Linked DNA regions of Homo sapiens: region 2 is linked to region 1. Evidence: promoter capture Hi-C in 16 types of primary human blood cells and fetal thymus (Javierre and others, 2016). All regions are on one chromosome and are shown on one strand. The core of a region is centred on a gene start or on the middle of the fragment in contact, and the rest is flanking DNA. Distances in the headings are between cores, read along the strand shown.

Evidence for each region. The method cuts DNA at HindIII sites, captures the fragments that hold promoters and counts their contacts. A CHiCAGO score of 5 or more calls a contact.
Region 2: a fragment that was not itself captured here is called in contact with the fragment with the promoter of SLC26A3 in region 1 in 1 of 17 cell types (erythroblasts); the score reaches 5.2 in erythroblasts.

The regions. Positions count from the first base shown.
Region 1 is chr7:107,801,608-107,805,159 of GRCh38, reverse strand. It overlaps SLC26A3 (solute carrier family 26 member 3), which reads left to right and starts at 1,937. Exons shown (of 21, transcript NM_000111.3): 1 at 1,937-2,049. The HindIII fragment of the contact is 4,247 bases long and covers 1-2,424 here.
Region 2 is chr7:107,766,716-107,770,054 of GRCh38, reverse strand. SLC26A3 (solute carrier family 26 member 3) reads left to right here. Exons shown (of 21, transcript NM_000111.3): 19 at 2,147-2,289; 20 at 2,411-2,476. Among named protein-coding and RNA genes, the nearest start is that of CBLL1-AS1, 24 kb to the right of the region's middle. The HindIII fragment of the contact is 976 bases long and covers 1,190-2,165 here.

The DNA.
Region 1 (3,552 bases), core at 688-3,187:
TCTTTTGGAATTGTCTTATAGCAAACATAATTCATTGATTGAACTGTCATTGAACCACTATTTATTGAGTCATTGTTCTGTGGTAGATTCATTCTAGGTACTGGGCATACAGCAGTGAATTCGCCAAAGTCCCTGCCTGTGTGGGGCTTTCATTCTAATGAGAAAGCCAAACATTAGCCAAGTAAATAATTGTGTATTTTTAAATTATGATGCTATGTTTTAAAAAGTACATGCAAATTAACCAAGGGACTTAAAAAAATACTCTGAGAGAATGCCACAAGAGGGGCTAATTGAGATTAGGAAGTCAAAGTGGTTCTCCTTGAGAAAGTGATGTTGAAGCTAAGTAACAGCCAAACCGAGAGAGAGAGAGAAGTGCATTTAAGCAGAGAAAATGATGTCTGCAAAGAGTGGGCAAATTTGGGACTACAGGAGGCCACCATGGTGGGAGTGGAGAAAACAAAAGTAAGAGCAGAGTCAGATGAGGTTGGAGAGTTGTGCAGGGGGAGATCATGCAAAGACTTTGGAGGCCTGTTTTCCCTCTGTGTAATCATCAGCCCCACAAAGAGGACTAGTGTGAAAAGATCATTCTGATTAATGAGTGGTAAAGAGATGGGGAGGGCTGCGAGAGGAAGCAAGAAGTGCAGCAAAGGTAAGAGTGAAGATGAAGAAAAGTGATGGCTTTGGGATGTATTTTGGAGGCATGCTCAATAGGGTTTAAGGATGGATTGGCTGCGGGTGGGGAGAAGGTCTGCAAGAAGAAGTGTCAGAGATGGTTCCCAGGTCTCTGACATGAGTAAAGGGGAATATTCTTTACTGAAATGGGGAAGACTAGAGATGGAGCAGATTTGGGAGGAAAGATCAAGAGGTCTTAATCTCGATATGTGTCGTGTTTGAGATGCCTATGAGGCATCCAAGCAAAGATGTGGAATAGGCAGTTAAATATGTGGACCTAGAGAGCTGGGGTTAGAAATCTGAATGTTGCTGGGAGCCATAGGACTCTTATTTAGGGTAAGAGGGTAGCAAGAGAGGAGAAGGAAATTCAGAACAGAATCTTAGGAAATGCCAAAGAAAGAGTTAGAGGAGAAATTGGCAAAAAGGATGAGGTGAAAAACAAGTGTGTTAAAAATTTTTTTTTAGCATTTCAAGAAGAGAAGATTTTAGCCCGGCATGATGGCTGAGGCCTCTAATCCCAGCTACTCAGGAGGTTAAAGCAGGAGGATCACTTCAGGCCAGGAGTTTGAGACCAGCCCGGGCAACACAGCAATACCCCATCTCTAAAATTAACTAATTAGTTAAATAATTTTTAAAATAAAAAGAGGAGTTCATGAAAGTGTAGTCAGCAATGCCAAATGCTTTTAAGTAAGATGAGAGTTGAAAGTATTCATTGTGTTTAGCAACATAGGGTTTATTGCTCTTAGGAAGAGCTGTGGTGGGGGCAGAAATTGGAATGCAGATATGGCCTGTGGCTGGGAGTTGGGTGAGTGTTCCTAATGAGGGCCTTTATCATACCAGGAGTTAACCTATACACCACACTTCTGCAGCCCATGACAGATTCCATGGAGTCATCCAGCCAAAAAACACCACCACTAAACTCTCATCTAAACAGGTTGGTGAAATGTCAAGGAGATAACCCTTGAGAAGATTCTTTTTTTTTTTAAGTACACGTGAGCATCTGCTGTGCAATCTCTGCAAACCAATGAAATTACGTACACACAAGTGCATTAAACCACCCACTGGTGGTTTAATCTCACAAGGAACTTGAGGAAGCAATCTTCATCATCACTTCTGCTGATCAAAGTCTCAAAGGTCAAGACCACATTGCAGTCTTTTCATTGTTGTAAAAGTTAATGAGAGTTAATTATTAAAGCTGACAGAAAGGTAATTTGTCCACTGTCTTACATAGCCTATATATAGACATCCCTATGCATATGGATGCACACAGAGCCTGTAGACCTGAGTGGATGGACACTGCCTCTTAGAACTAGAACTTAGAACTTTATCTTGAAAATGTACCACTGTTGCAGAAGCTCCTCACAGAGTATGTGTCAGGTAGGAACCAAATTTATGATTGTTATATTCAAACTGGTTTTCTGTTCCTTGAAAATGGTATTTTTTCTGATCAAAGCCTATTTAGGAGTTATTATGTTCTTGAGTTTATTCCATGTGTGTGAATATTTTGAATGAATCCACTAATAAGATATGCATGTATGTCTGGAGCGCTAGCAATGTAGAATAAATATTTAAGTAGACTTTAACAAGTAAATGGTTGTAGGCATCATTAAGTCTTAAATAGCCTTTTCAAAGATATTAGTGTTCTTGTTTTAATTATTCAGATAATTCCTTTAATTCTCCACTCAAATCTGACTTTATAGATAGATTGTCTGCTCTGAGGGTTGGCAAAAAAAAAAAAAAAAAAAGCAAGCTTTAAGGAAAGAGTTTCTCCAGGAGAGAGAATCACCTACTAGAAAGGATTCAGAAAGGCCATCTGGTCCCAGCCAGGCATAGGGATATGTATCTATAGTCCTAGCTACTCAAGAGGCTAAAGCAGGAGGATAGCTTAGCCCAAGAGTTTGAGGTCAGCCTAGGCAACATGGCAAGACCTTGTCTCTTAAAAAAAAAGGGAGGGGGTAGGGGACATATGGTCTAGAAGTGAGAGATTTATCTGCTAGACATCCTAGAAAGTCCAAGACTAAGGGAAACACGGAGAGAAGAAAAGGCAATGAGAGTAAGAAGGATAGAGACTGGAAAGAGAAGAGAGATGGGGAGAAAATGGTCACTGGAAAGTAGCAGAATGCCCTATGCCACAAGTAGTATAATATAATATAATACATTAGTAATGTATGGGTACTTATCCCATACATTACTAACTCTATCAAGATAAAATCTATTTTATTCTTTAAAATGTCAGGAAAAGATTATACAACTTTCTTTATATATGCAAGTGAGGAACAATTTATCAAATTATTGGACTAAATAATTCTCTTTTCTGAAGTAAGTTAGTCATTTGGAAAAACTGTGTCATGAAATTTGACTGCATAAAGATCATTCCTTTTTTTTTTTTTTTTTCTGAGACGGATTCTCACTCTGTCGCCCAGGCTGGAGTGCAGTGGCACAATCTCTGCTCACTGCAACCTCTGCCTCCCAGGTTCAAGTGATTATCCTGCCTCAGCCCCCCAAGTAGCTGATACTACAGGCACGCTCCACTGTGCCTGGCATTTTTTTTTTTTTTTTTTTGTATTTTCAGTAGAGACGGGGTTTCGCCATGTTGGCCAGGCTGGTCTCGAACTCCTGACCTCAGGTGATCCTCCCACCTCAGTCTCCCAAAGTGCTAGGATTACAGGCATGTGCCACCCCATCCGGCCAAGGATTATTCCTAATGAAAATTTAGGAAGCAACTAATTTGATTTCAGAAACAAGAAAAATGGGGTAACACAATACATACTTTGCCTTCTCCCTCTGGATAAGGGAATAAGTAAGTATATAAAGAAATGAACAAATGTTTAATACCTCCTAAACAGCTCATATTCGACTAAGAAACAAAATCGTTCAGAA
Region 2 (3,339 bases), core at 428-2,927, 35 kb after region 1:
AAGAGAAAGAAAGAAAGAAAGAAAGAAAGAAAGAAAGAAAGAAAGAAAGAAAGAGAAAAAAGGAAGGAAGGAAGGGAGGGAGGGAGGCAGAAAGAAAAACTGGTGATCAGGGATGTCCAGCAATATGACATTTTGAGTACAGACTAGAACGAAGTGAGGCAGTCAACCTTGACAGTACTTAGGGGGAGCTTTTTAGGGAGAGGAGACAAGTGGTACACATATCCTTCGAAAAGTATAAAATTGGCATCCTTAATCTCTCCCTTTCTACTGGATCCTGTCCCTAAAATATACAGACATATTCTAGTTTCAAGACTTTTAAAAAAAACTTTTAAGTTCAGGGGTACACATGCAGGTTTGTTACATAGGTAAACTCGTGTCATGGGGGTTTATTGTATAGATTATTTTGTCACCCAGATATTAAGCCTAGCACCCATTAGTTACTTTTCCTGATCCTTTCCTTCCTCCCACCCTTCACCCTCCGATAGGCCCCAGTGTGGGTTGTTCCCCTCCATGTGTCCATACGTTCTCATCATTTAGCTCCCACTTATAAGTGAGAATATGCAGTATTTGGTTTTCTGTTCCTGCATTACTTTGCTAAGGATAATGGCCTCCAACTCCATGTACCTGCAAAGGATATTGTTTTTTTTTAATTTTTTTATATGTTTTTATATAGTATTCCACGGTGTATATGTACCACATTTTCTTTATCCAGTCTATCACTGATGGGCATTTGAGTCCATGTCTTTGCTATTGTGAATAGTGCAGCAATCAATGTATGCATGCATGCGTCTTTATAAAAGAATGATTTATATTCCTTTGGGTATATATCCAGTAATGGAATTGCTGGGTCAAATGGTATTTTTGTCTTCAGCCCTGTGAGGAATCGCCACACTGTGCTTATACACTGTTGGTGGGAGTGAAAATTAGTTCAACCATTGTCAAGGCTTCCTTATAATTAAAAACATCCCCTTGATCCCAGAAACCTTTAATTTACTAACAATTTTACCCTTTCCTCATCATCCCAGATATTTTGGAAAGTATCTGTTCCTGCTGTCTCTGCTGCCTGGCATTCTTTTCAGTCTTTATCAAAGATTATCACCTTCCTTCCCATTGCATGCCACCCACTCCATCCCAGATCCTGGTGGCCACAATGCCCTCCACGCTCCCTCTCCCTCTGTCACTGAAAGCTTTCTGTAAACAGAAGAATCCATCTTCATAACTGTGTACCTTCTCTTCCTCCACTTTTCTGCAAATCCTAGGCACGTTTAGACGGTATCTGCTCAAGTTTTCCCAGATACCCACCAAGAGGAAAATTTCTCAGAATTTTCATAGTACATGATCTATATCTCTCTCATATATTCAACAAAAAATATGAAGACATACTATGTGCTGGGAATTTTTTTAAAACTAAGAAAACAATAAAGGAAAAAAACTAGATTGCTCCTTTCCCTCATTATTATACCACACGTTTTCTGTCAGTACTACAGGAATATATAAATGTTCTATCTTCCTTGAGGGCAAGATTCAGGTCTAATTTATCTTTTGATCTTTCTTATTACTCAGCCAGAGTTTTGCACATGGCAGACATAAGGTAATAGTTGGTTGAGTCATCTATGTAAATGAATGCTGCTTAGTGCCTACAAAAATGGGATTTCTCAAAGATGATTAGAGAGGTAAGTGGTAAGGAAGATGTTTTCCCATAAAACCCAGCAGCTTTGGGAAAATGGGCTACAATAAAGAACCACAGCATATCACTGGTCCATAAACATATGTTCCATTTTGGCAGAATCCCAAACTTTAATAAGAAGCCACACTTGATACTCTAATCATTAAGCAGGGAGATCAATTCACTAGGCTCCTGCCTAAATGAATTTTCTTCTAGGAACTACTGTTTTTCATTTGCTCCTTTGCCTTCCTCCTTTTTACATTAGGGCATTAAATTTTTTTTATTAGAAAGGTATTTGTTAGTTCCAAAAGACATTGTACTAAAGATAGACTGGTATTATACCACTGCAACCCACACACACTTAACCAAATGTCAATGAAACGCACATTTGCAAATGGAAGGTGAAATTACTAGCCTCAAGGGGAAACCGGTAGCCAAACAATTGTTTCTTCCTAAAAGTTACTGTTTTTTTCTCTTCAGATGACTTCATTGAGAAGCTTAACCGGTATGAATTTTTTGATGGTGAAGTGAAAAGCTCAATATTTTTCTTAACAATCCATGATGCTGTTTTGCATATTTTGATGAAGAAAGATTACAGTACTTCAAAGTTTAATCCCAGTCAGGTATCAGCTCTTTGGTGACTTTCACAATTGCATAAGCAGCCATCTGCACTCCTTAAATTTCTCTTTTTCAACATTAAAAAAAATCAGCCCCTAATCCATATTTCCATTCTCTTTTTCTCAGGAAAAAGATGGAAAAATTGATTTTACCATAAATACAAATGGAGGATTACGTAATCGGGTATATGAGGTAAGATTCTTCAACAGGTTTATCTTCACCTAGACATCACAGCAAAAAAAAACCTTCAAAGTAGTGAGGCCACTTCCTGCATGTGGCAGAAAGTCCAGCACTTGCTTGAGCCTCTGTGCCTCATCCCTAGAAAACTGAAGCAATGCTAACCAATCTCACAGGGAGTTTTCAGGAAAAGAAACTCAGACCCGTACAAAAACAGGATGAAAAAATAGTGATAATAGATCTCCATTAATGCAATATTGAGCATATCTTCTTTTGTTTTTCAAACCACTTACAACAATGCTCTTATTCTGGCCCTGTAATAATCCACGTAGCAGGGAAGGTATTGCTCTTTCCATTTACAGGTGAATTAGCAATGAAAATGATAAGCTAATACACACCTCCCAATAGCCAGATGCTTGAGAAGTCCCTAGCACAGTGCCCAGTCAAGCAATGAAACAAGTTTCTATCCTTCCTTACTAGAGTGAGTTGCCAATTCAGCATTTAACTGGAGAGTCCCATTTCATTGTAGATGTTCATTTCTAGAACATTCAGTCCTTTAAAGCAATGTTTCTAGTTTGGGAAAAGTAGAATCACAAATTAAAATGGGTTTCTGCTGTAGGCCAGGTAGATGGCAGGTGTATTACATTCATTATCTCAATCCTTATAACAATATACAAAGAAGATATCTTCATTTTCCAAATGAAAAAAAAAAAAGGAAACAGGCTCAGAGAGCTTAACTAATCTGCTTGAGGTCACATACCAAGTGACCCCAACAGGACTGCACTAAGATCTTTCTGATGACAAGACCTGTCTTCTGTTCTAGTACACCATCTCTATCCTCTAGTGAAAGACAACGGATTGAGGGACCAGAGAAAGAA